7 separate regions of the Homo sapiens genome follow, and regions 1, 2, 3, 4, 6 and 7 are each linked to region 5. The links are contacts of gene promoters, found by promoter capture Hi-C in human tissues and cell types (Jung and others, 2019). All regions are on one chromosome and are shown on one strand. Each heading gives the region's core, a stretch centred on a gene start or on the middle of the fragment in contact. The rest is flanking DNA. Distances are from core to core; before and after follow the strand shown.

Evidence for each region. The method cuts DNA at HindIII sites, captures the fragments that hold promoters and counts their contacts. A contact is called where the count stands out against the background at its distance.
Region 1: a fragment that was not itself captured here is called in contact with the fragment with the promoter of ASL in region 5 in 3 of the 25 tissues and cell types used here (lymphoblastoid cells, mesenchymal stem cells and thymus).
Region 2: a contact is called between a fragment that was not itself captured here and the fragment with the promoter of ASL in region 5, in 3 of the 25 tissues and cell types used here (IMR-90 fibroblasts, mesenchymal stem cells and thymus).
Region 3: a contact is called between a fragment that was not itself captured here and the fragment with the promoter of ASL in region 5, in 1 of the 25 tissues and cell types used here (mesenchymal stem cells).
Region 4: a contact is called between a fragment that was not itself captured here and the fragment with the promoter of ASL in region 5, in 4 of the 25 tissues and cell types used here (heart right ventricle, mesenchymal stem cells, spleen and 1 more).
Region 6: a contact is called between a fragment that was not itself captured here and the fragment with the promoter of ASL in region 5, in 1 of the 25 tissues and cell types used here (mesenchymal stem cells).
Region 7: a contact is called between a fragment that was not itself captured here and the fragment with the promoter of ASL in region 5, in 1 of the 25 tissues and cell types used here (lymphoblastoid cells).

The regions. Positions count from the first base shown.
Region 1 is chr7:66,376,441-66,380,039 of GRCh38, forward strand. It overlaps LINC00174 (long intergenic non-protein coding RNA 174), which reads right to left. Exons shown (of 5, transcript NR_026873.1): 5 at 1-3,563. Among named protein-coding and RNA genes, the nearest start is that of LINC00174, 22 kb to the right of the region's middle. The HindIII fragment of the contact is 3,814 bases long and covers 19-3,599 here.
Region 2 is chr7:66,445,009-66,448,463 of GRCh38, forward strand. It overlaps the pseudogene RABGEF1P2. Among named protein-coding and RNA genes, the nearest start is that of LINC00174, 46 kb to the left of the region's middle. The HindIII fragment of the contact is 4,488 bases long and covers 1-3,455 here.
Region 3 is chr7:66,576,549-66,580,566 of GRCh38, forward strand. It overlaps the pseudogene RABGEF1P1. Among named protein-coding and RNA genes, the nearest start is that of KCTD7, 50 kb to the right of the region's middle. The HindIII fragment of the contact is 3,042 bases long and covers 1-2,800 here.
Region 4 is chr7:66,465,725-66,469,379 of GRCh38, forward strand. No RefSeq gene overlaps it. Among named protein-coding and RNA genes, the nearest start is that of LINC03011, 26 kb to the right of the region's middle. The HindIII fragment of the contact is 5,421 bases long and covers 1-3,655 here.
Region 5 is chr7:66,073,976-66,077,777 of GRCh38, forward strand. ASL (argininosuccinate lyase) reads left to right here and starts at 1,844. Exons shown (of 17, transcript NM_000048.4): 1 at 1,844-1,881; 2 at 2,064-2,118. The coding sequence starts at 2,107. RefSeq lists a silencer at 1,485-2,014 and an enhancer at 2,115-2,394. The HindIII fragment of the contact is 4,995 bases long and covers 1-2,528 here.
Region 6 is chr7:66,402,259-66,405,977 of GRCh38, forward strand. No RefSeq gene overlaps it. Among named protein-coding and RNA genes, the nearest start is that of LINC00174, 3.7 kb to the left of the region's middle. The HindIII fragment of the contact is 3,022 bases long and covers 285-3,306 here.
Region 7 is chr7:66,545,803-66,549,393 of GRCh38, forward strand. It overlaps the pseudogene RABGEF1P1. Among named protein-coding and RNA genes, the nearest start is that of LINC03011, 54 kb to the left of the region's middle. The HindIII fragment of the contact is 6,781 bases long and covers 1-3,591 here.

The sequences.
Region 1 (3,599 bases), core at 676-3,175, 300 kb after region 5:
AGGCCTACTTTGGGACGCTTTGGGCCACTTTGGGCCACATCGAGGAAGGCAGCTTGGGGCCGGGAGGCGCCGTCAGGCTGGGTGGGAGCTGGGCCCGGAGAGGCCACCGCGAGGCATGAGCTGGGCCCAGAGGGGCCAGCGTGAGGCAGGAGCCGGGCTGGTGGAGGCTGCCGGGAGGCCGGCACGAGCGTGGCAGGGGAAGGCCGCCGGGAGGCGGGAGCTGGGCCTGGAAAGGCTGCTGCGAGGTGAGGCAAGGTGAGGGGAGGCGAGGCGAGGCAAGACGCGGCCCTGGAGAGCTGGACTGGAGGAGGCTTCGGGCCTACGAAGGCCGCCGGGAGCTGGGCAGGAGCCGAGTCGAAGGAGGCTGTTTGGAGACGGGAGCTGGGCCCACGGGCGCAGACGCGAGCAAAGAGCTGGGCCCGGAGAGGAGGCCGGGAGGCAGCCACTGGACCGGGGGAGGCCGACTTGAGGAAGTTCTGGGCCTGGAGAGGCCACCACAAGGGAAAAGCTGGGCCTCAAGAGGCCGCAGCGAGGCACGAGCCGGGCCTAGAGAAGCCTTCGGGACGCAGGAGCTGGGCTTGTGGCGCCTGCCGGCAGGCAGGAGCCTGGCCTGGGGAGGCCGCGGCCGGGCACGAGATGAGCCTCCTCAAGAGGCCCCCGGCAGGCGGGAGCCGGGCCTGCCGGGGCTGCCGTGAGGCAGGCGGAAACGTGGCCTGGGGAGGCCGACGTGAGGCCGCAGCTGGGCCGGGAGAGGCCGCTGGCAGGCAGGAGCCGGGTCTCTCAGGGCCGCCGGAAAGCCGAAGGTGGGTCCGGGAGGCCTGAACGCAGGGAAGCCTGGGGCCTACAACGGCTGCCAGGAGCTGGGCAGGAGCTGGGCCGAACGTGGTTGTCGTGAGGCAGGAGCTGGGCCCGTGGAGGTGGCCGGGAGAGCTGGGCCTGGAGAGGCCGACGGGAACCAGTTCTGGGCCTGGAGAGGAGGCCGAGGGGCAGGAGCCGGGCCTGGAGCGGCCGCCAACAGGCAAGAACTGGGCCTGAGGTGGCCAGGCTGAGGCAAGAGCCCGGCCCCCATGGGCCACTGTGCGGGAGAAGCTATGGTTGTTCGGGCATCCAACACACGTGCTGTTCCTGGCGAGGCTTATTTCAGGACGATTTGGGCCTGCAGAAGCCATTATCAGGAGGCAGTAGCCTGGCCTATAGAGGCTGCGAAAATTTAAATTCTTGACCTGCAGAGGCCATGATCACGTAACATCTAGGCCTGGAGGGTCCACTGTCAGGCAGCGGCGCATCCTGAAGGGGCCTACAACAGGCAGGATCTCGGCCTGTGGAGAGGCATCCCCTGATCCTAAAGAGGCCAGTGTGAGTGATCACATGGCCCACAGAAGCAAGTGTCAGGCCAGATCGTCGCTTGGAGAGTCTGAGAAAGGCATGAGATGGACCTAAACAGACCATTGCGATTCAGCACCTGGGCCTATAGAGGCCAGTGTGAGGCAGGAGCTTGACCTGGAGAGGCTGGAAGACGTATGAGCTTGTCCTAAACTGTCCAGTGTGAAGGAAGAGTTTGGTCTGTCAAGGCCGTCGGGTAACAGGCTGTAACGTGGACTGGGAAAGCAACTGTGAGGCAAGGGCTGGGCCTCGGGAGGCTGGGGGAAGGCAAGACCTGGGCCTGGGGAAGCCATCGTCAGGCAGTAGCTGGGCCTGTGAAGGCCCCTGGGCAGCATGATCTGGGCCTGGAACGCTTGACTTGAGGAAGCTTTAGGCCTACAAAGGCCGCCAGGTGCTGGGCAGGAGCCGAGCCAAAATAGGTTGTTTTGAGTCAGGAGATGGGACTGTAGACCCAGCTGGGAGGAAGAACTGGGCCTGGAGAAGGCACAGGGAGGCAGCAACTTCACCTTGCGAAGCCGAACTGAGGAATTTCTGGGCCTGGAGAAGCCACCAAAGGGAAAAGCTGGGCGTGGATAGGCCGTTTTGAGGAATGAGCTGGGCTTCAAGAGGCAATGAGATGCATGAGCTGGGCCTCTAAAGGCTGCCAAAAGGCAGGAGCTTCATCTGGGGTGGCCACCTTGAGGGATGAGATGAGCCTAACCAGGCCATTAGAGGCAGGAGCTGGGCCTATCGGATCCTGCCATGAGGCAGGCAGAAACTTGGTGTGGGAAGGCCGGCATAAAGCAAGAGTTGGGTCCATCAAGGATGCCACAATGCAGGCAGAAACCTGGCGTTGGGAAGCTGCCATGAGGCAAGAGCTGGTCCTGTCAAAGCCGCTGGGAGGCCAAAGGTGGGCCTAGCAAAGTTGACTTTAAGAAGTCTGGGGCATATAGAGGCCACCAGGTGCTGGGCAGGAGCTGGGCCAAAAGAGGGTGTTGTGAGGCAGCAGTTGGGCCTGTAGACACAGCCAGGAAGAAGAGCTGGGAATGGAGTGGCTGATCTGAGTACATTGTGGGCCTGGAGGGTATGCCAACAGGCAAAAGCTGGGCCAGGAAAGGCTGCCGTAAGGCATGAGCCTGGCCTAAAGAGTCCATTGGGAAGCAGGAGTTGGACCTGTATACACCGCCAGGAGGAAGAGCTGGGCCTGAAGAAGCCACCATACAGCAGAGGCTGGGTTTATAGAGGCCGACAGGAGGCAGGAGCTCAGCCAGGTCGCAGGAGCTCAGCCAGGACAGGCTGACTGGAGGACATTTGGGTGCGCAGAAGCCACTCAGAGGCAGGAGCTGGGCTTTGAGAGGCTGCAAGAGGCAGGACCTGCCCAAACGAGGCCACTGTGGAGGAGGAGCTGACCTGTCACCACTGCCTGAAGACAGGGAGAAACGACCTGGAGAAGCCTCCGTGAGGTAAGAGCTTGGCCTGGAGAGGTCCCTCAGAGCCCGATGAGCTGGGCCTGTAGAGACCATTGTCAGGTTGGAGCTGGGCGTGTCCAGGCCAGTGGGAGGCAGAAGGTGGGCCTAGAGAGCTTGAATTGAGGAATTTTCATGCCGACAGTGGCTGCCGTGAGCTGGACAGGAGCTGGGCAGAAGAGTTTATTTGAGGGAAGTGTTGGGCCTGTAGACGGAACCAGGAGGAGGAGCTTGACCTGCAGAGGCCATCATGAGGCAGAGGCTTGGCCTCTATAGGCCAACGGGAGACAGGAATTGGGCCAGGAGTGGCTCACTTGAAGATAATATTGGAGAAAGTGACAGAGCATCAGGCATTAGATTCTCATAGGGACAGCGCAACGTAGATCCCTCACATGCATGGTTCACAATGGGGTGCATGCTCCTATGAGAATCTAATGCTGCTGCTGATCTGAGAGAAGGCAGAGCTCAGGCAGGAATGTGAGCAATGGGGAGTGGCTGTAAACACAGATGAAGCTTCCCTCATTCAACACCATTCACCTCCGGCTGTGTGGCTCCTTACAGTTCCATGGCTCTGGCGTTGGGGACCCTGCCCAAGTACATCCAGAAGGACCCTTCCACACCAGTCTTCATAGTGGTCAAGTGCAGCAGCCACTTAGCTCCCAAGGCATATGCCACAGCTGGCATTTCATCACAATCAACACTAAGTGGTAGCTTGAGTCATTGTGAGGTCACTTCCTGGAAATCAACAGCATCCCATTTCCCATTGCAAGG
Region 2 (3,455 bases), core at 609-3,108, 370 kb after region 5:
ACTCTGCAGCCCAGGCGGGAGTACACCGGCGCATTCTCGGCTCACTGCAACCTCTGCCTTCCAGGTTCAAGTGATACTCCTGCCTCAGCCTCCTAAGTAGTAGGGATTACAGGCATGGGCCACCATGCCTGGCCAATTTTTGTATTTTCAATAGAGACAGGGTTTTGCCATGTTGGCCAGGCTGGTCTCCAACTCCTGGACTCAAGTGATCTGCCTGTCTCGGCCTCCCAAAGTGTTGGGATTACGGGCGTGAGCCTCTGAACCTGGCCTGTCTCCATGCTTCTTCCACAGCCTGCAGAACTGTGAGCCAAATGAACCTCTTTCCTTTATAAGTAACCCAGCCTCAGGTATTCTTCTATAGCAATGCAAAGGGATTAAGCCATTGTTTTATGTACCTTACAGGATAGCTACCAAATTCAGGAAAATTTACATTGATAAAATACTTTTACTCAATTGAAAATCCATATTCCAAGTTTCTCAATTGTTCACAATGAGCAGTTCACAATTTTCCCAACCTTTGTTTCTCTCAGCATGACACTTCTGAAGAACACAGGCCAGGTATCTTGTTGAATGCCATTTAGATTGGGTGTCCTCATGACTGGATTCAGGTTGTTAAAAATTTTCGGCTTAGATATTTCATAAATGATGTTGTGTTCTCAAAGTGTCATGTCTGGAAGCACACATGACATCTATCCTTGCCTCCTACATCCCCATTTTATAGTTACCATTTCTCTATTTATAATTAATAAATAATCTGGCTGGGCATGGTGGTTCACACCTGTAATCCCAGCACTTTGAGGCTACAGTGGTGGGATCACTTGAGGCCAGGAGTTCAAGACCAGCCTGGGCAACACAGCGAGACCCACCTCCCGTCTCCACAAAAAAAGGAAAAAAAGAAAAATAAACACATAAATAATTCATTGGCAGTGAATTTGAGATCATGTTCGTAACTTGTTTCCTGGGAAACTCCCTCCCCTCATCCAAGATTTAGCACCCAGATAAACTTTACCTGAATCAATTTTTGCTACTAACATGACTATAACCTCTCATTTGTGTATTTCTCTATTTTTTTTTATTTTTTTTTTATTTTTGAGATGGAGTCTTGCTCGTTGCCCCGGCTGGAGTGCAATGGCATGATCTCGGCTCAGCACAACCTCCGCCTCCCGGATTGAAACGAGTCTCCTGCCTCAGACTCCCAGTAGCTGGGATTGCAGGCATCTGCCACCACGCCTGGCTAATTTTGTATTTTTTTAGTAAAGACGGGTTTCTCCACGTTGGTCAGGCTGGTCTCGAACTCCCAAGCAAAGGTGATCCACCCACCTCGGCCTCCCAAAGTACTGGGATTACAGGCGTGAGCCCCCGTGCCAGCTGTATTTCTCTATTTTACTAGTTAAATTAACACACGGATTATTATTTTGTTCAGTTATACTTCATTTATTGTCCTTATTTATTGATTTCTTCACTTTATTTTTTTTTTAAGACGGAGTCTCGCTTGTTGCCCAGGCTGGAGTGCAGTGGCACGATCTCAGCTCACTGCAATCTCCACCTCCTGGGTTCAAGCCATTCTCCTGACTCTGCCTCCCAAGTAGCTGGGATTACAGGCACACACCTCCACACCTGACTAATTTGGTATTTTTAGTAGAGATGGGGTTGTGCCAAAAAAAAAAAAAAAAAGACAGAGATGCGGTTGCACCATGTTGGCCAGGCTGGTCTCGAACTCCCGACCTTAGGTGATCTGCCTAACTTGGCCTCCCAAAGTGCTGGGATGACAGGTGTGAGCCACCGTGCCCGGCCTTATTGTCCTTGTTTATTTTGACACTCAAATTATCCCAGACTTGGCCAGTGGAAACCCCTCCAAGCTGGCTTCTAGATCTTCTGAAATGTAACCAAAATATTGAAGGGGCCTTTTTTTCCCTGCCCCAGCCCCAGAATCAGTCATTTCTCTAAGAAGCCCTGGCTCACTTTAATGAATAATACTATTTAGAATCTAAGGTCTGGGTGGTATTGGTATTTTAACTCTAAAAAAGAAAAGATACGCTTTGGAGGATCACTGTCTTTAGATCTGTTTGTGAAAGAGGTACACAAGATTCTACTTGGGATGACAAGATTATAGGAGTTCTGAAAGAAAAGGGCACTTTGGAATGTATAAGCAAGTGATCTCAGCTTGGCCAACCACTATGACTTCCTCTATACAGCTCACTCACCATGACTGTGGAGACTAAAACACTTTAACTGAGTCTTTACAGTCAAGACATTCCATTTACTTTCTCTGAAAGTGAATCCAACTCTAAAAAAATGTGAAAATATTCTTCAAATTCCTTAGAAGGTTATTTGTATTTTGTCTGCTACCAAGCTGCTGTGTATGGCGAAAAGCTTTCCTTTATGTTACTAACAGAAACAAGCAAAATACCAAGAGCAAGGGCATCACGGACTAAAGAAGATCAAGAATACAAAATCCAAAAAGTCTGTTTCTAGTCTAGACCCAATACATTAAAACTGCACTTAGGCTAACCTTATCCAAACACGATGGCCAAACAAGTAATCAGTGTGAAATGCAAAATTTACCTGGCTAACTTATATTAAGTGATCTGTGAAACAAAGACATAATGGAATCTTCTCTTCTAACATAAATTTTCAAATACTTTAAGATCTTTATCCCCAAAGCTTTCTACTGACAAAAAGCAACTAAAGAACAAAAAATAGAAAGTACAAATCTACCATTCAAAAAGATGCGGGGTGGGGAGAAACAAGAACAAAGGTAAAAACCATTCTGCATACACATTTTTAAAATAAAAGTCACTTGGATTGTTTCTTTTTTTAACTAATTAATTTTTTCAAAGATGGTGTCTCACTCTGCTGCCTAGGCTGGAATACAGTGGCACAATCACAGCTCACTGCAGCCACTAACTCCTGGGCTCATGTAATCCTCCTACCTTAGTCTTCCAAGTAGCTGGGATTATAGGTAGGTACAAGCCACTGCACCCAACTCGAGAATGGTTTCTTTTTAAAGTACAGACTCTGCACTAAATTGTAAATCTTCTTTCCATAGTATCATGCACACTGTACAGAGGCTTTTGGGACACAGGTTTTTAAAACCACCAAGGAGAGTCAGCGAATATAAATGACAATTATGTACTTAAGTAACAGAAACTTGATTATATATATATATTTACTATTTATTATATACATTAAATAACCTGGGTTTCTGAAGTATACACATTGAATAAAGGAATATAATGGAAAAATATTGACCCAGGAGTTAGGAAACCTGAGTTCTCATGCACAAACTCATCGTTCAACCTTGGGTAAATTAGTTAACCTTTATGGACTTTCATATTGTCATCTGCAAAATGAGGCTATTAGAGCTGATAATTCGATGATTTTTTTTACTATTTCATCTGTTATCATACTTACCATTTCACTACATATCATCAAGAAACAGACTTTAAGCTAAA
Region 3 (4,018 bases), core at 30-2,529, 500 kb after region 5:
AGTTAAGACAAACACAAAATGAAGAAACTACTGAAAGCTGTTCATTAAAGGTTGACTGAGAAGAAGAGGGGAAAACATCCTTTTCCTTAATATTAAACTGACTTGCTGATAGCTGAATGCAGAAGAGAAAAAATGTATTTGCACGGTGACAGAGCTATGTATCCAGTCACATCACTGATCAACCGCCCCTAGTTAAGTCCTTTTACCGTTCCACCAGCTCCCAGTACTCCTGAATCTGCTTCTGCCTGGCTTTGTGCTACTCTTCCCTCCAGCACTTGGAGCAGAAACCCTGCCAGGTAGGGTTGCCACAGTAACCACATCCTTTCTTGCACAGGATCCACATGAATTCCTCGGCGTTCAGACCTAAGGCTCATCTTCTTCCTGCTAACCAATGAACAAACAAGAAAGTGCTGTTGAAAATGAATTATCATCCTACTAAACTAAAACCTTACCAGTTACGAACAAAACCTGAGTGATTCCATTATCTTCAAGCCGTAAGAGAGGGAAGGAGGGAATGAATGAGGAAGGGAAGGAGGGAGGGAAAGAGGGGAGGAAGGAAGAAGGAAAAAGTTAAATATAGTAAATTCCTGACAGTTACATTAAAGAAAGACTTATTCCCTGCCCAAAATACAAAGAACTCATTAAGAAAGGGCTAACATTGGATTAAAGACCTAAATGTATAGGCTTGAAACTAGAAAACTCCTAGAGGAAAACTTAGGGGAAAAGCTTCCCAACACTGGATTTTGCAATGACTTCTAGGATATGACACCAAAAGCACAGGCAACAAAGGCAAAATCAGACAAATACATTACATCAAATTTTAATATCTCTGCACAACATAGGAAGCAAATGACAGAGTAAGAAGGAACAATATACAGAATTGTAGAACATATCTGCAAACCACATATCTAATAAGGAGTTAATATCCAGAACATAAAGGAACTCTTACCACTCAGTAACAAAAAAAACAAGATAATCCGGTTTACAAATGGGAAAAGGACTGCAATAGACAATTCTCCAAAGACATACCAACAGCCAATAATCACGTGAAAAAGTGTTCAAGATCATTAAATCAGGGAAATGCAAATCAAAACCACAATGAGATATCTCTTTGTACCCATTAGGATGGCTACTACAAAAAAAACATTTGCAGTTTTTGACGTGGTGGCAAATAAGCACATGAATAGTTGATCAACATTGTTCAATCATTAGAGAAATGCAAATTAAAACCACCATGAGATATCACTCAAACCTATTAGAATGGCCAAAATAAAACATACTGACACAGCCTGGGCAACATGGCAAAACCCAGTCTCTACCAAAAAAATACAAAAAAAAAAATTAGGCAGCGATGGTGGTGCATGGCTGTGGTCCCACCTACACAGTAGGCTGAGGTGGGAGGATCACTTGAGCCTGGGAGGTGGAAGTTGAAGCAAGCCAATATTACACCACTGCACTCCAGCCTGGGTGACAGAGTGAGACCCCACCTCAGAAAAAAAATAAATACTGACAATACCAAGGGGTGGCAGGGATGCAGAGCAACTAAAACCCTCATACCTTCCTAGTGGAATGCAAAATAGTACAGACACTACTAGAGAAAACACTTCCATAGTTTCTTAAAAATGTGTAACATACAATGACCATCCAACCATGCAATCCCTCTCCTGGGTATTTCCTCTAGAGAAATAAAAACTGCTATTTACAAAATTCTATACACAGTTATAGTAGCATTATTTGTGATGACAAAAAATGACAACTAAAATATCCTTCAATGGGTGAATGAATAAACAAATTATGGTACATCCATACAACAGAATGCTACTCAGGAAAACAACAACAACAGGTATCAGAACACCCAACAACTTCGATGAATCTCAGAGGCTTTATGCTGATAGAAACCAGCATCTTAGTTCCTTCTGGCTGCAGTAACAAAATACCATAAACTGGGTAGGTTATAAAAAACAGAAATTTATTTCTCACAGTTCAGGAAGCTGGCAAGTTCAAGATCAGGAAGTCAACAGATGTTGGTGTCTGGTGGTTCACTGAAGGTACCTTCTCCCTGTGTCCTCACATGGCTAGGCTCTCTGCGGTCTCTTATAGGTGCACTAATCCCAATCATGAGGGCTCCACTTTCATGAACTAATCACCTCCCAAAGGCTCCACCTCCTAGTAGCATCACCTTGTGGATTAGAATTTCAACATATGAATTTGGAGGACACACAAAGATTCAGACCATAGCAGCCATCTTAAAAGTTTACATACTGTAAGATTCCATTTAAGAACTAGGGATAGGAAAGAATGTGACTTATAAAGGATTAGCACGAGAAAGTTTTTAGGGGTGATGAAACTGTTCTGTATTCTGATTGTGGAGGTGTTTACATAAATCTATTAAAATTTAGAAATTTGCAGAACATTATATTCCTCCCAAATCAATTTTACTCTATGATAAAAAAAACAAAACAAAACAAAAAAAAACCAACCTCAGCCGGGAACGGTGGCTCACACCTATAGTCACAACACTTTGGGAGGCCGAGGCAGATGGATCACCTGAGGTTAGGAGTTCGAGACCAGCCTGGCCAACATGGCAAACCCCGTTTCTATTAAACATACAAAAATTAGCCAGGCGTGGTGGCAGATGCCTGTAATCCCAGCTACTCAGGAGGCTGAGACACGAGAATCACTTGAACCAGGGAGATAAAGGTTGCAATGAGCCAAGATCACGCCACTGCATTCCAGCCTGGGCAACAGAGCGAGACACCATCTCAAAAAAACAAAAAACAAAACAAAACAAAACACTTGAGAGGCAATTTCTAGGTTGGATTAGAGAGAAGTACAGAACAGGAGACACGGATACTGACCAAGACACAACTACAGTCAAGGACTAGAGGTAACACAGTGGGTAGCTAGGTGTGGTGGCGCTTGCCTGTAATCCCAGCTACTCGGGAGGCTCAGGCATGAGAATCACTTGGACCCGCAAGGCAGAGACTGCAGTAAGCCAAGATCCCACACCAGGGCACTCCAGCCTGGGCAACAGAGTGAAACTCCGTCTCAAAAATAAATAAATAAATAAATAAATAATCTTGCCATTATCATCCCGTGTCCCTTTTCTTCCCTTTCAAGAGAAATGGGCAAAAGGAAATACTTATTTTTTCGCATAGATCAATTATGTTTTTTAAATTTTGTACTGTTAAGTATGATAGTACTACTCAATGTTACTAAAATGAACATAAGTTTGGGGAGTCTGCCTAGCACGTGCAAATACCTCCTGTGTATCAGGAAACTGTCCTCTCAATCCACAAATATAAGCTGGCAGCAGCTATATTTGTATGAGGTGAACAGTCCCCCAATTCAGGGTCACAGCTGATTGCCTCCAAATGTGTTAGAGTCTTTTGCTTGGAGTTTTGGAAATGGGACTAAGTCACGGCTGTTCTCTTGAATGATGGAGCTGTGTGACATGATCATCTTCCATCCAGTGGTCTGAGAATCAGGACAGTCTACAGAGTAAAATAGACATATCCCAAGAAGCAGAGAAAAGTAGAAGGTCCTATACGTCCTGAGTGATTTCAATCTCCCAGTTCCAATCCCTGGCTAAGGTTTACATGCACGCCCATCCTCAGATTCTGAGTCATACACCCTGGTCCCCTAACTACTTTTGTCGTTTTTTCTTAAGCTGGTTCCAGTAGAGCCTATTATCTATGCCAAAAGACTTGTACAGATGCTCTTTAAGAGCTAGAAAAACATAAAGGAGTGCTCTGTGGATTACTTGGCATACAATAAAAGCTCACTATGTATTAGACAGAAACAATAGCTCTGAGTCTAAGAAGACTGATTTGGTGTGGACCATGAAATCACAGAGATCAGTCCTATCTGCACTCCAACCCCAGCTCTGCCACGTACTGGAAATGTAACTTTAGGCAAACTATGTAATATTTCTGAAACTCCCTTTCCTATCTCCCTCTCCAACCTCTCTGCTCCTATCATTCTCCACCTTTTCACCCAACTAAGCCTCATAGGACCT
Region 4 (3,655 bases), core at 589-3,088, 390 kb after region 5:
AGATCTGGTTGTTTAAACGTGTGTAGCACCTTCTCTCTTGCTCCTGCTCCCACCAGGGGAGACACTTTGCTCCCCCTTTGCTTTCCACTATGATTGGAAGCTTCCTGACGCCTCCCTAGAAGCAGAAGCTGCAATGCTTCCTGTACAGCCTGTAGAACTGTGAGCTAATTAAACCTCCTTTCTTTATAAATTACTCAGTCTCAGGTATTTCTTTATAGCTATGTGAGAATGAACAAACTAATACACTATGTGACCCATCTCCAATAAAAGCCCTGGATTCTGAGGCTCATGTGAGCTTTCACAATAGAAAACACTTCACATGTGTTGCTAGAGTTTATGGCTGGGGAAGTAAGCACAAACTGGGCAACTCTACGGAGAGAAGACTCCGAATCTTCACAATGCTCGTGTCCTATAGAATCTTCTCAATGCACAACTACCCTTTATTAATCCTGCTTTGTATCCCCTCACTGTAACAAACCATAGCAAAGAATGTCCTGTGAGAGCCTTGAGCGAATTACGAAACCTGGGGGCAGCCCTGGGGACTGCTGACATAGGATGTGACTAAAAGGGCATAAGGGAGGTCTTTCGGGTAATGGAATAGTTCTGTATCTTGACTATGGTGGTGGCTACAGGAATCTATGTATGAGATAAAATGTGCATGACACTATACACATACATTGCACAAATATCAAATTCCTAGTTTCGACATTATATTATAGTTATGTAAGATGTAACCATTAAGCAAACCAGAAGAGTACACAGGACCTGTCTGTATTATCCTTACAGCTTCCTATGGATTTGACGTTATTAATTATTCCAAATTCTAAAGTTTTGTTAAAAATCACACATGAATGTTTTTTAATAAAAATAAACACCTATCATGGGACTAATGTGTATCAGTTAAACACAACACTCAGATCATTCTGCTGCTTCTAAGTATAAAAAGAGAGCAAGGGTACCACCAAAAGAGAGTGCCATCATTTGAAAGGCTATGTGGTGGTGCCGACAGCTGTTATGGTAGAAGGCAGGAGAGTCGGCACACCCAGATTGGACATCAGAGCTACAGACAGCATATCCTGTAAACACAGGAAGAAACATGGGGGATCGACTGCATGAGACTCAACTCTTTCCTGGGCAGACAGACCTGTCCCTAGACAGGTAACCACCACCAGCACTGCTTCCAGGAGGGAGCTCCAAGGGGCCACATGCCACTCCTGTTTGAGCACTGCACTCCAATAAATAGGAGCTTGATTGAGCAACCTGGGCATAAAGAATGCACGATTCAATTGGTCCCACTTATGTCAGGGAAGACAGAGTAAAAATGATCTCTGCTGCTGGGACAGTTAGGATTCTATAAATTGTGCCCCAGGGCTAGGATTTATTCTAGGTCCAGGTACCTACAAAGACCAGAGAGGTACAAAGCTTACTTACAAAGCTCACAGAACTATTAGTGTTCTTTCTTAAGACTCTGGATGCAAACCAGTTTCATCTCAGAAAAGCAAAACCAAAACACTTTACAGATGTGAGTAGTTTCCCTCTATCCTTGAGCGGGCCCTGCTTCCTATTCTTGGGTTCAATGTCATGCCCTCAGAGGTCATTCCTATCTCCAGACAACTCATCTGGGACTTACAGGAAACATCCAATCAATTCCAGCAAAATGATAAGCTATCCATTGACCTCAATTAAGAAATAAAACTTACAGGTGATTTTTTTCCCTTAAATTTGTTTTTTTTTTCTAGTTGAAGCAAAGAATACTCATTATTTACAAAACCTGATATATATAGACAAGTAGAAAAAAAAGTTTTAGTCATAGAGTCACTGTATATGGTACATATTCTTATAGTGTTCCCTTGCACTCATTCAACAAATATTTATATACTGATTGATTACTGAATGACAGGCACTTAGGACACAAATATAAGTAAAAATAAATCATTTCAGTCCTTGTGGAGCTTACCGTGTAATATAAGAAATATGACTGTATATCTGGAAGGCCTAAAGAAAATAAAACACTGTTACTGCTGAGAAATTAACTTTAAAATGGCTAACTTTCATAAAAGAATTCATATTTATGTGAAATAAGCTAAATAGGTACACGAAATCTGTGGAACTCTTGTAACAGACAAACAATAACAAGTTAGAAAGTATAAAAAGAGATATCAGTCAAAATAGCATGAATATGTAAAGACTTATAGAAAATATTTTAATGAGAAAATTATAATCCACATGGAAACACTGAGATATACTTAACGCAATGTGCGAAAATAAAATCTTATAACCATGTCAAACATTCCAAAATGTGTAAGTTTACTACAAATGGCAATAAAAATCCCACAAGACTTTCTGGAACTCAACAAAATGATTCTGTCAGCAAAAATAAACACTAAATTATTTTTTGATTTTCTAAATTAATTTTCTGAATTTTTATTTGCAAACTAGTTAGAAGACTGTGAACTCAAGAACAGACCTGTCAAACCACTACAGGACAGACTGACTCAAAAATGAATCTAATCTAATCTAATCTAATATAAGGTAATTTAATGTTAGAAGAAGGAGGGGAAGGGGAAATTTTCAATAGTGTTGTAATAACTGGTCAGCAATCTGATACCCCCTACATTAATTACAGGTATCTTTAAAAAGTTAAAAGTTTGTAGAAACAAACAGAAAATAGAAAGAACTAAAATGAAGTATTCATGAAAGTTCTAAAGAGGTGAGGGTTATCTAAGTTTACAAACTGCAGGGAAAGTCAAAATGGAAACAAAACTTAAAATACATAAACTGAAACATCTAGCTGGTTCTTGATAGGCTATCTGTAGCCAAAACATAAAAGCAAATAAGGGACTAGAAAAAAAATCTGAAGTAAACAGGACAATGAAGTATTTTATTAAATTCAGAAATAGTACTAACAAAATTTATAAACCTTTGATAGCCAAGCAGGACAAGGTTATGAGCAGATCATGACCTTGAGCAGACCGCAAAATGTGAGCAGTTTGCTAGAAACAGAAACGGAATGCCAAAGGGTATGTGCATTTAAAATTCTGACATATACCAAACTGGTCTGACAAAAAGGCTATACCATTTACATTCCCACCTACAGTGTATGAGGGAATCTGGTCTCCCATAACCTCATAAGCATAGCATTATCGAACTTTAATTTTTGTCAGTCTGACAGGCAAACAAAAAAAATTCATTTAACGTGCTTTTCCCTAAGGTTAGCCACCTTTACAGATATTTATTGGCACTAGTATAATTTCTTTGAATAAATTAACTGTCTTTGCTCAGTTTTCTATGTCATTACTGTTTTCTTTCGATTTATAGGTACTCTTCTTAAATATTTTTCAGTCCTCAACTTGATGGTATGAAGACACCGTAATTCTAATAAAAGACTTATTAGCATTTGCAATCTGTAATCCAAGTTTCACCAACTTTCATATGATTAAATACAATGCTTCCAAAATGAATGTGAATGTCACACAGAATCAATGTCAGAGTTTTAATGTTAAATATAACAAAACAAAGTATCCAAACATTAGTCTAGACAAATAATTCCAAATGATAATCAACTCCCTGGAATAAAATGTAGAGTTGATTGCTGCTGGAATGAGCAGAGCAAGCAGGGGAGCATTCTTAAGGAATGAGTTCTAGACAATGGTCT
Region 5 (3,802 bases), core at 594-3,093:
CTCCTTCCACCTCTCCTCCCTACCTTTTGTTATAGTTACAGCCACTTGGATGATTTCCTGTTCTTAAAGCAGGCCAGTCACATTTTTTGTCCAGACTTCTCCCTCTGCCTGGAATGTTCTCCCCTTCTTCCCTGGGCAAATTCCCCCCATCTTCCAAGACCCAATGCAGAAGACAGGTTCATTAGAAGCCCCTTCAGGGTACTTCCAGTGCCTAGAATCCAGCCTGACATTTTGGTTGAATAATTAATTAATCAGATCAAGGACCTCTTCCCTGAGTACCCAACATAGCCCCCCTCCCCAACGCCTGTGCTCCCTGCACACCTCCTCCATGCTATGTTGGAACTTCTTGAAGTCAGGCTTCATTTCTTTTGTTTCGTTTCTTTCTTTGTTTTCTCTTCTCTTTTTCTTTTTCTTTCTTTCTTTCTTTTTTTTTTTTTTTTTTCGAGACAAGAGTCTCACTGTCGCCCAGGCTGCAGTGCAGTGGTGCCGTCTCAGCTCACTGCAGCCTCCACCTCCCTGGTTCAAGTGATTCTCCTGCCTCAGCTGTCGGAGTAGCTGGGACTACAGGCACCCACCACCACACCCGGCTAATAGAGACAAGGTTTCACCATGTCAGCCAGGCTCATCTCGAATTCCTGACCTCAGGTGATCCGCCCGCCTCAGCCTCTCAAAGTGCTGGGATTAAAGGCGTAAGCCACTGTGCCCGGCTGCGTTTCTTTTTTCTTTTCTTTTCTTTCTTTCTTTCTTTCTTTCTTTTTTTTTTTTTTTTTTTTTTTGAGACAGAATCTTGCTCTGTCACCCAGGCTGGAGTGCAATGGCACCATCTCAGCTCACTGCAATCTCCGCCTCCCGGGTTCAAGAGATTCTCCTGCCTCAGCCTCCGGAGTCGCTGGGATTGCAGGCACCCGCCACCGTGCCCGGCTAATTTTTGTATTCTTAGTAGAGACGGGGTTTCACCACCTTGGCCAGGCTGGTCTCAAACTCCTGACCTCGTGATCCACCCGCCTCGGCCTTCCAAAGTGCTGGGATTACAGGCGTGAGCCACCGCGCCCGGCCTCCGGCCGCGTTTCTTTTCTTTTTTAGAGGAGTCAGGCTGGAGTGCCGTGGCACAATAGCTCACTGCAGCTTCGAACTCCTGGGCTCAAGTGCTCCTCCCGCCTCAGCCTCCTGAGTAGCTAGGACTGCAGGCGTGCACCACCACGCCCGGCTTTTTTTTTATTATTATTAATTTTTTTGTAGAGACGGGATCTTGTTGTATTGCCCAGGCTGGTCTCCAACTCGTAGCCTCAAGCGATCCTCCCACCTCGGCCTCCCAAAGTGCTGGGATTACAGCTGTGAGCCACCGCGCCTGGCACAGGCTTCATTTCTGATGGTCCTTCCTTTTTCCTTGATGCCTTTCTCTGTACCTGGCACATAGAGGTGCCTGGTACGTGTTTGTTGAATGAATGAATGAATGAGTGAATGAGCGAACATGCCATTTCACCTTATATATCTTGTGAACCTGCCAGGCCCGGGCCTGATGTCATAGCCTCTACCCCTGGCCCGAGTCTCCAGTCCCCTGCGTGTCTGCTGACCACAGCACGAACGCCAGCGCACTACCCTCCTCAACCCCAGCCCAGGCCCCTTCCCCGTCGGGGTCCCCCCAACCCTTTCCCCGCCCGCTTCCCCGCCCCGGGGCCGCTTAGCCTCCAGCTCAGCGGGAGGTATCCCCGCCCACGGCCAGGATTGGAGGATGGAGGCAACGCCCACCCCGCCGGGCGGCCTCCTATTGGCGCGGCCGTCGCCAGGGGTGGGGACAGGACCGGCGGCTGCTGACGCCATCCCGGCCAGAAAAGCCCTGGCCAGTGGCGGGCGCGACACTATCCGTGCGGCCAGGCGGAGGTGAGTGCGCGGCGGCCGGATGGGCGGGACGGGCGTGGAGGACGCCGAGCACCGTGGCGCGCGCTCACGTCCGCGTCCCCAAGGGCTGCGCTCCCTCAAGCGCAGTGCCCAGAACTCGGAGCCAGCCCGGCCCGGGGGACCCTGCTGGCCAAGGAGGTCGTCAGTCCGGTCTTGTCTTCCAGACCCGGAGGACCGAAGCTTCCGGACGACGAGGAACCGCCCAACATGGCCTCGGAGGTGAGTGGGACCTCGGGGACTCCGGTCCTCCTAGCCTCCAAAGGAGAGAGTGGGGGCGCCAGACCTGCCTCGGGCCACCCTGCTGGGAATCGCCCTCCAGGAAGCAATTTTGAAAATTACCTAGGAAGCCTGCACCCCCAGCCCTCCCGGGCGCATCATCTGGAGCCCAGCAGTCACCTTTACCAGGACTCACCAGTATCCGCAGGCAGCCCTTGTGGCAAACCCACCAACCCACACTACTAGGGGTAGAGTGGCTCTGCCCTCACCTCACAGTGATGCCTGCCTGGCCAGGAAAAGTGGCTCCCAAGCCTTCAGCCTTCCAACTCTTCCTTCCTTCTTACCACGTGTCCTCCTGTCAGGTCCCACCCCACACCACATCCCTTCTCCTGCTAGAGCAATTGTCCCTGTTTATAGAATAAAGCTCAGCCCCTAAGTGTTCTTGTCCTTGACTGTGGCATGTGGAAAGAGCCAGGAAAAAGGGGACGTCGCCTCGTGGCTCCAGCAACCCTGGTGCCTGGTCCCTTCCTGTCTCACTGGACCCTGCCTCTTAGGGTCAGTGGCTCCTGGCCTCTCCTCCTGACCACTGAGATGCTGGATTCCCAGGCAGAGGTTTTCCTTCCTTGGGCCATAGTTGATTTATCTGGCAATGGGGGTAATAATAGCTGTCGGCCTCACTCTGTAAGGCACTAGATTATGAGGCCATTGCTTTGGACCCTTCAGGTGAGAGGGGCTGTTCGCCTGATGCTTGATGAAGGGAACTCCGGGAAGCAGGAGGTCTGGGTTCCAGGCCCTTTTGGCCTTCATTAGCTAGCAATTCACTTCCTCTTTCTCAATGCCCTGCAAGCTCAGTGCCCTGCAAGCTTCTGGGTCATGGCAGGGGGGTAGGGCCTGGACTTTGGAGCCAAACAGACTTGGTTTCTGTACCAGTCACTTGAGCCCTTTAAACCTCTTTCCTCATTTGTGAAATAGGGGTAATATTGCCCACCTCATAAAAGGCCGTAATAACATATGTGAAATCCCTAGCACAGGGCTGAGCAACAGTAGGTGCTCAATAAATGGTGGCTAACCACAACAATACTGATATTTCTACTTTGGGAGGCCGAGGCGGGAGGACTGCTGAAGCCCAGGAATTCCAGACCAGCCAGGGCAATGTAATGAGACCCTGTCTCTACAAAAAGATTTTGAAAATTACCCAGGTGTGGTGGCGTACACCTGTAGTCTCACAGGAGGCGGAGGCATGAGGATTGCTTGAGCCCAGGAGTTTGAGACTGCAGTGAGCATGATCTCACCACTGCACTCCAGCCCAGGCAACAGAGTGAGATCCAGTTTCAAAAAAATAAAAATAAAAAAACCTGGCAGGCATGGTGGCTCACACCTGTAATCCCAGCACTTTGGGAGGTCGAGGTGGGCAGATCACCTGAGGTCAGGAGTTTGAGACCAGCCTGGCCAACATGGTGAAACCCCGTCTCTACTAAAAATGCAAAAATTAGCTGGGTGTAGTGGTGGGTGCCTGTAGTCCCAGCTATTCGGGAGGCTGAGGCAGGAGAATCGCTTGAACTCGGGAGGCGGAGGTTGCAGTGAGCTGAGATCGCACCACTGCACTCCAGCCTGGGCGACAAAGCAAGACTCCACCTCAAAAAAAGAAAAAAAACCCACAAGTCCCAAAACCAAAACTGGTATTTCC
Region 6 (3,719 bases), core at 546-3,045, 330 kb after region 5:
GTGCAGAGAAACTGCTGGTCACTGGGTGCTGCTGAGCACCGTGCAGGGCAAGAGCCCGGTACTGGAGAAGCTCAGTGCCTGTGGAGATTCGCACACCACAACCAGAAAGAAAAGCCTCTTACAAGGTCCCTCTAGTACTATGTACTGACAACATTTAATCATGTACCAGCTGACAGAAGAAGCATTTAAGGAACCCACCTCTATGTTTGCAGATCAGGCAGTGAAGGGTGAATATGGAACTGATGGGCAGTCATTGGATGGATAGCTGGTACATGACACGTTTCCTTCTACCAAGAAAGAAAGGGAAGAGAGAGAAGAGAGAGAGGACCAGGCATGGTGGTTCACACCTATAATCCCAGCAGTGTGGGAGGCCAAGGAAGGTGGATCACTTGGGTCCAGGAGTTAGAAACCAGCCTGGGCGACATAGTGAAATCCTGTCTCTACTAAAAATAAAAGAAATTAGCTGAGTGTGCTGGAGTTTGACTGTAGTCCCAACTTCTCAAGAGGCTGAAATAAAAGGATCACGAGTGTCTGGGGGTTCGAGACTGCAGTGAGCCGTGTTCACACCACTGCACTCCTGCCTAAGTGACACAGCGAGATCATGTCTCAAAAAAAGAAATGTTGGTGAAAATGTGGAGAAATTGGAACCCACATACATTACTGGTGGGAACACAAAATGGTTTAACTACTTTGGGTGTTTCTTTTCTTGTCATTTTATTTATTTATTTATATTTTTACTTTTTTTGTGTGACAGAGTCTCACTCTTTTGCCCTGGCTGGAATGCAGTGGTGTGATCCTGACTCACTGCAACCTCCACCTCCTGGGTTCAAAAAATTCTCCTTGCCTCAACCTCCCGAGTAGCTGGGATTACAGGCATCTGCCACCATACCCAGCCAGGCTGGTTTTGAACTCCTGACCTCAAGTTATCCACCCACCTCAGCCTTTCAAAGTGCTGGGATTACAGACATAAGCCACCGCACCTGTCTTCTTGTCATTTTAATTTGATTTTTCAAAAACCGAGACAGGGTCTTGCTATCTTGCCCAGGCTGGTCTCTCTTTACTCATAGGCTCAAGTGATCCTCCCACCTCAGCCTCTCATGTAGCTGGGATTACATCAGTCACTGCACCTGACTGGTGTAACCACTTTGGAAAACAGTTTCTCAAAAGGCTAAATGTACAACATCATAGAATGCAACAATTTCTCTCCTAGGTATATATCCCAGAAAAATAAAAATGTATGTCCACACAAAAACTTGTACATGAATCTTCATAGGAGCATTATTCATTAACAGCCAATACATGGAAACAACCCAAATGTTCATCAACTGAAGAATAAATAAAATGTGGTGTTTCTGTACCATGGAATATTATTCAGCCATAGAAGGAACGAAATACTGACACATGCTATGACAGGAAGGAACTCTGAAAACACTGTGCTAAGAGGGAAAAAAAAAAACAGCCACAAACAATCACATATTGCACAACCCTATTTATATAGAAGGTCCAGATTAGGCAAATCTATGGTGACAAAAAATAGATCAGTGGTTGCCTATGGGGAACACAGAAGCGTTGAGGGGAGTAAGCCACTAGCTTACTCCCCGCCATGTTCTTAGCTAGTGGCAAAGAACAGCGGATTTCTCTATAGGGTAATGAAAGCTTCTAAAATGGATAGTGGTGATAGATCACAGCTCCATGAATATTCTAAAAACCACTGAATTGCATACTTTGATAAACAAATTGCATGGTATGTGAACTACATTTCAATAAAGTTGTTATTTAAAAAAAGAAAATAGCAGACTGGACCCAGATGGCCCATGGCTGCCTATAATCCCAGCACTTTGGGAGGCTGAGACAGGAGGATCAATTGAGGACAGGAGTTTGAGATCATCCTGGGCAGCATAACACGATCCCATCTCTACAACAAAAAAATAAAAAATTTAGCTTTGCATGGTGGTGTACGTCTGTAGTCCAAGCTACTTGGGAGGCTGAGGCGGGAGTACTGCTTGAGCCCAGGAGTTTGAATCTACAGCGAGCCATGATCACACCACTGCATTGCAACCTGAGTGACAGAGCAAGATCCTGTCTCTAAAAAGGAAAGAAAAGAAATGCAAGTTTTTATCACTTTGTGAGAGTAACCAAGTTTGTAGAGAAACACATAAGAACAAGAGCACTGAATGGTGAGAGTGGGAGGCTGGTTAGGCTCATTGCTAGCTAAGGGACTTCTGAAAAATTCATTAGTAAAATCACAGCTCTGGGGGTCAGTCAGGCAGCCAAATGATGAATGTTAAATCCATTACAAATGCCCATCGTCTTTCTTTACATCCCTTCTAATGAAAAATTCCTAACTGCCTAAATAGCAAGTGTTCTCAAATGATAGCAGCTGTTTATTAAAGAAATAACACCTCAAATTTTAAAAACCATGAGTCAAATATTATTTTCTTCCTCCCATTTTATATGTGTGCAACCTAAAGAATAGAGAATTTAAGTAATTTTTCTAAGTGGCAGAGCACAGATTTAAATCCTATTACCTTGGCCTCAGAGTTTGTGCTTTATTTTATTTTATTATTTTAAAATTCACCTTTTTTAAAACCAAGAGGCTTATGCAAAATTCTGCTAGGATTCAAAAAAAGCCTCTTGCTTTTCCTGACTGTGGGTGCAGGCAGGGCTCATGCTGCATTTTCTTTACTTATAATTGGATGGAGACATGATGGATGGAGACATGACGACAGGAGCTCTCTTGGTCATTGTGCACCAGAAAGGAGAGTGAAGAGAGGCACAGGGAAGCCAGTCTTACCATGTTTGAGCAACTGAACCAATGTCAGCCTCAGCCTACCTGCACAATTACTTTTATGTGAGAAAAACAGGCATCTCCCTATTTTGATAATCACAGCTAGCTATAGTAGCAAACAATCCTCAAGTTATTCTTGGTAACATTATTCCTACAGCCTCAATCCTTTTAACTCATTATATTAGCTGTTCATTTCTCTGTTTTTCCTGACATCTAATTGACAACCAAAAGCTTATGTTATTAAATAAGCTTTGGATTAACGGGATCAATGAATGAAGAGTTTAAAGATAGCAAAAAAAAGTTCACAGAAGTACCTGCCAAATGTGCCAACTGACTACTATGAACTAATTTACTTTTGAGAAACATGCTATTTCTTATATGCTACTGACAGTGCCTATAAAAATGGTGCACATTAACTGGCTGTTTTATTTTCTCCCCAATCTTAATATCTAATATCCACAGACTGAGATTAGAGCACCAACGTATACAATGTAACTTCATACTAGAGTTAGAAGGGGATACAAAGTGTAGAAATCATAATCTTCTCCATAAAGTTCCTGTCACCTTGGAATTAACCTCCCCTTTACATAGTCTCATTGTTCACCTTGTTCACATCTTCATGGGTTCAGGCTCAGGTCTCTGTGGTCGCACAGTGTGTCTTTTTACCAAAAGGAACACCTCATGCACTTTTCCAAAAGGAGAAAAGTAAAGGTTTGAATGGATTTTTAGTTCTCGGCATTTTTGAACAGAAATAATCAGGTATTAAGTTGCTCAAAGATCCCCACAAGCTTTCATAGGAGAAACATCTAATTCATAACCAAGAGTTTATGTTATTAAGTAAGCTTTCCTTTAACAGGATCAATGAATGAAGAGTTTAAATACTCGCTCTAATCCCCATTCAGTCATCTGGTATACTCTCTGTGAGATATAC
Region 7 (3,591 bases), core at 324-2,823, 470 kb after region 5:
AACATACAACTTCAACACTTATGGACATTTACTTATTTTTAAAGATTTTTTTTTTTTTAGATATTATATTTGTTCTCTGGGGAAGAAACAAAAACATGTTTTAATTAAATTTGACTGTTTCTGACTATACAATTCTGATTTTTAACATTTAAATATAAATACGTTTGTATTTAAATATCAATGTTTAAATATAAATATGAATATTTATTATATTTTTTAAAATAATTATAATTCCATAGTCTCAGTGATTACCTTTTTTTCTTTTTTTTTGAGACAGGGTCTTGCTCTGTCACCGAGGCTGGAGTGCAGTGGCACGATCTCAGCTCACTGCAACCTTCACCTCCTGGCTTCAACCCATTCTCATGCCTCAGCCTCCCAAGTAGCTGGGATTACAGGTGTGCACCACCACCCTGGCTAATTTTTGTATTTTTTGGTAGAGATGGAGTTTCACCATGTTGGCCAGGCTGGTCTCGAGCTCCTGACCTGAAGTGATCTGCCTGCCTCAGCCTCCCAAAGTGCTGGGATTACAGGTGTGAGCCACTGCACCCAGCCTCCGTTATTACTACTATACCATATATCCTTACAGTCTTTTGGGTTTTGGTTTTTGTTTTGAGACAGGGTATCACTCTGTTGCCCAGGCAGGAGTACAGAGGTATGATCCTGACCCACTGCAGCCTCAACAGGGTCTCACTGTGTTGCCCAGGCTGGTCTTAAACTCTTAAGCTCAAGTGATCCTCCCACCTTGGCTTCCCAAAGTGCTGGGGTTACAGTCGTGAGCCACCACACCCAAACTGTGTGGCCCAGTCTTTTTTTTTTTTTTAATACAATAGATGATTCGCTTATTTTCAGAACAATACACAAAACAACCTGGAAAATATGAAAAGATAGAAGAAAAGAAGATAGCTGTAAGTCTCCTACTGAAAGTCAACACTTTGATGCATTTCTTTATATTTTTAAATTATTATTTTATTAATATATTATTACTTTATTTTTGAGATGGAGTCTCATTCTGTCGCACAGGCTGGAGTACAGTGGCGTGATCTCAGCTCACTGCAACCTCCACCTCCCAGGTTCAAGAATTCTCCTGTCTCAGCATCCTGAGTAGCTGGGACTACAGGTACATGCCACCACGCGTGGCCAATTTTTTTAAAATATTTTTAGTAGAGACGGGGTTTCACCATATTGGTCAGGCTGGTCTCGAACTCCTGACCTCAGGTGATCCACCCGCCTCGGCCTCCCAAAGTGCTGGGATTACAGGCATGAGTCACCACGCCCAGACGTTTGTTTTTTTTTTTTTTTTTATTGCACAGGTTAGTCTCAAACTCCTGGGCTCAAGCCATCCTCCCACATCGGCCTTTCTTTTTTTTTTTTTTAAGATGGAGTTTGCTTTAGTTGCCCAGGCTGGAGTGCAAAGGCACGATCTTGGCTCACTGCAACCTCTACCTCCCAGGTTCAAGCAATTCTCCTGCCTCAGCCTCCTGAGTAGCTGGGATTACAAGCATGCGCCACCACCCAAGCTAATTTTGTATTTTTAAGAGACGGGGTTTCTCCACGTTGGTCAGGCTGGTCTCGAACTCCCAACATCAGGTGATCTGTCTGCCTCAGCCTCCCAAAGTGCTGGGATTACAAGCTTGAGCCACTGCGCCCAGCCCGCCTTCAATGTTATATTACATGTATTGTTTCTTTGTTTTTTTGAGATGAGGTCTTGCTCTATCACCCAGACTGGAGTGCAGTGGCACCATCTTGGCTCACTGCAACCTCTTCCTCCGGCATTCAAGTGATTCTTGTGCCTCAGCCTCCCAAATAGCTGGGATCACATGTGCCTGCCCCCACACCCGGCTAATTTGTGTATTTTTGTAGAGACAGGGTTTCACCATGTTGGCCAGGCTGGTCTCGAACTCCTGACCTTAAGTGATCCGCCTGCCTTGGCCTCCCAAAGTGCTGGGATTACAAACATGAGCCACTGTGCTGACCTGCATGTTTTTTTAAATTAAGATAATATTTGCATGTGTCAAAAAAACCCAAATTGTTCAAAATCAAAAAGTGGAGGTTTCCCTTTCTCCCACAGATAGTTCACCCCCCCGAAGTAACAACTAGAAAATGCAGGAAAACGGCCAGGTGTGGTGGCTCACGCCTGTAATCCCAGCTACTCAGGAGGCTAAGGCAGGACAATCGCTTGAACCTGGGAGGTGGAGGTTGCAGTGAGCTGAGACCATGCCATAGCACAACAGCCTGGGCAACAGAGCAAGACTCCATCTCAAAAAAAAAAAAAATTAATTAATTAAAAAATAAATTAGACGGGCATGGTGGTGTGCACCTGCATTCCCAACTACTGGGAAGCTGAGGCAGAAGGACTGATTGAGCCCAGAACTTTGAGGCTGCCGTGAGCTAGGATGGCACCACTGAACTCCAGCCTGGGCAAAAGAGTAAGACTGTCTCAAAAATAGTAATTGATAATAATGCTGTGATGACTATCCACTTGCATAAATCTGGGCACACGTTTCTGATCCCTTGGTCAGACAATATCCTCGCTTTATAGATGAGGACAGCAGACCTGGAGGAATGATTTGCCAGCCCAGGTCCATCGTCCAGGGCCTATATGGGGAATGCTCTGTCGGGACGGTGTGTTCCCCATTTTTATTTCGGTGTTACCAGGCTCCTGCAGCAGCAGCAGCACCACATCTCAGAGGGCAGGTGAGAAGGAGGGGAAAACGGCCAAACGCAATGGCTCATGCCTGTAATCCCAGCACTTTGGGAGGCGGAGGCAGGCAGATCACCTGAGGTCAGGAGTTCAAGACCAGCCTGGCCAACACGGCGAAACCCCGTATCTACTAAAAATATAAAACTTAGCTGGGCGTGGTGGCGGGCACCTGTAGTCCCAGCTACTCAGGAGGCTGAGGCAGGAGAATGGTGTGAACCCAGGAGGTGGAGGCTGCCGTCAGCCAAAATTGTGCCACTGCACTTCGGCCTGGGTGACCAAGCGAGACTCCATCTCAAAAAAAAAAAAAAAAAAAAAAAAAAGGAGGGGAAAACCTCATTTTCTAACTGCCACCTCTTTTCTTTCTTTTTCAGACCCTTTGCAGAAATCTGCAATGATGCCAAGGTGCCAGGTGAGTCGGAGGCAAGGAAGCCACCCTTCTGCCCTGTGGGGACTAGACTGTTCCTTTTGAAAAAAAGGTAGAGCCGGGTGCAGTGGCTCACGCCTATAATCCCAGCACTTTGGGAGGCAAGCAGATCACTTAAGGTCAGGAGTTCAAGACCAGCCTGAGCAACATGGTGAAACCCTATCTCTACTAAAAATACAACAATTAGCTGGGCGTGGTTGTGGGCACCTGCAATCCCAGCTACTTGGGGGACTGAGGCAGGAGAATTGCTGAACCCGGAAGGCGGAGGTTGCAGTGAACTGAGATCACACCCCTGCACTCCAGCCTGGGAGACAGAGCAAGACTCCATCTCAAAAAAAAAATGAAAAAGACAGAGACACCAGGAGTTGGAGGCTGCAGTGAGCTATGATTGTACCACTGCACTCCAGCCTGAGCAACAGAGCAAGACCCTGTCTCTAAAAAAAAAATTTTAATAAATTTTTTAAAG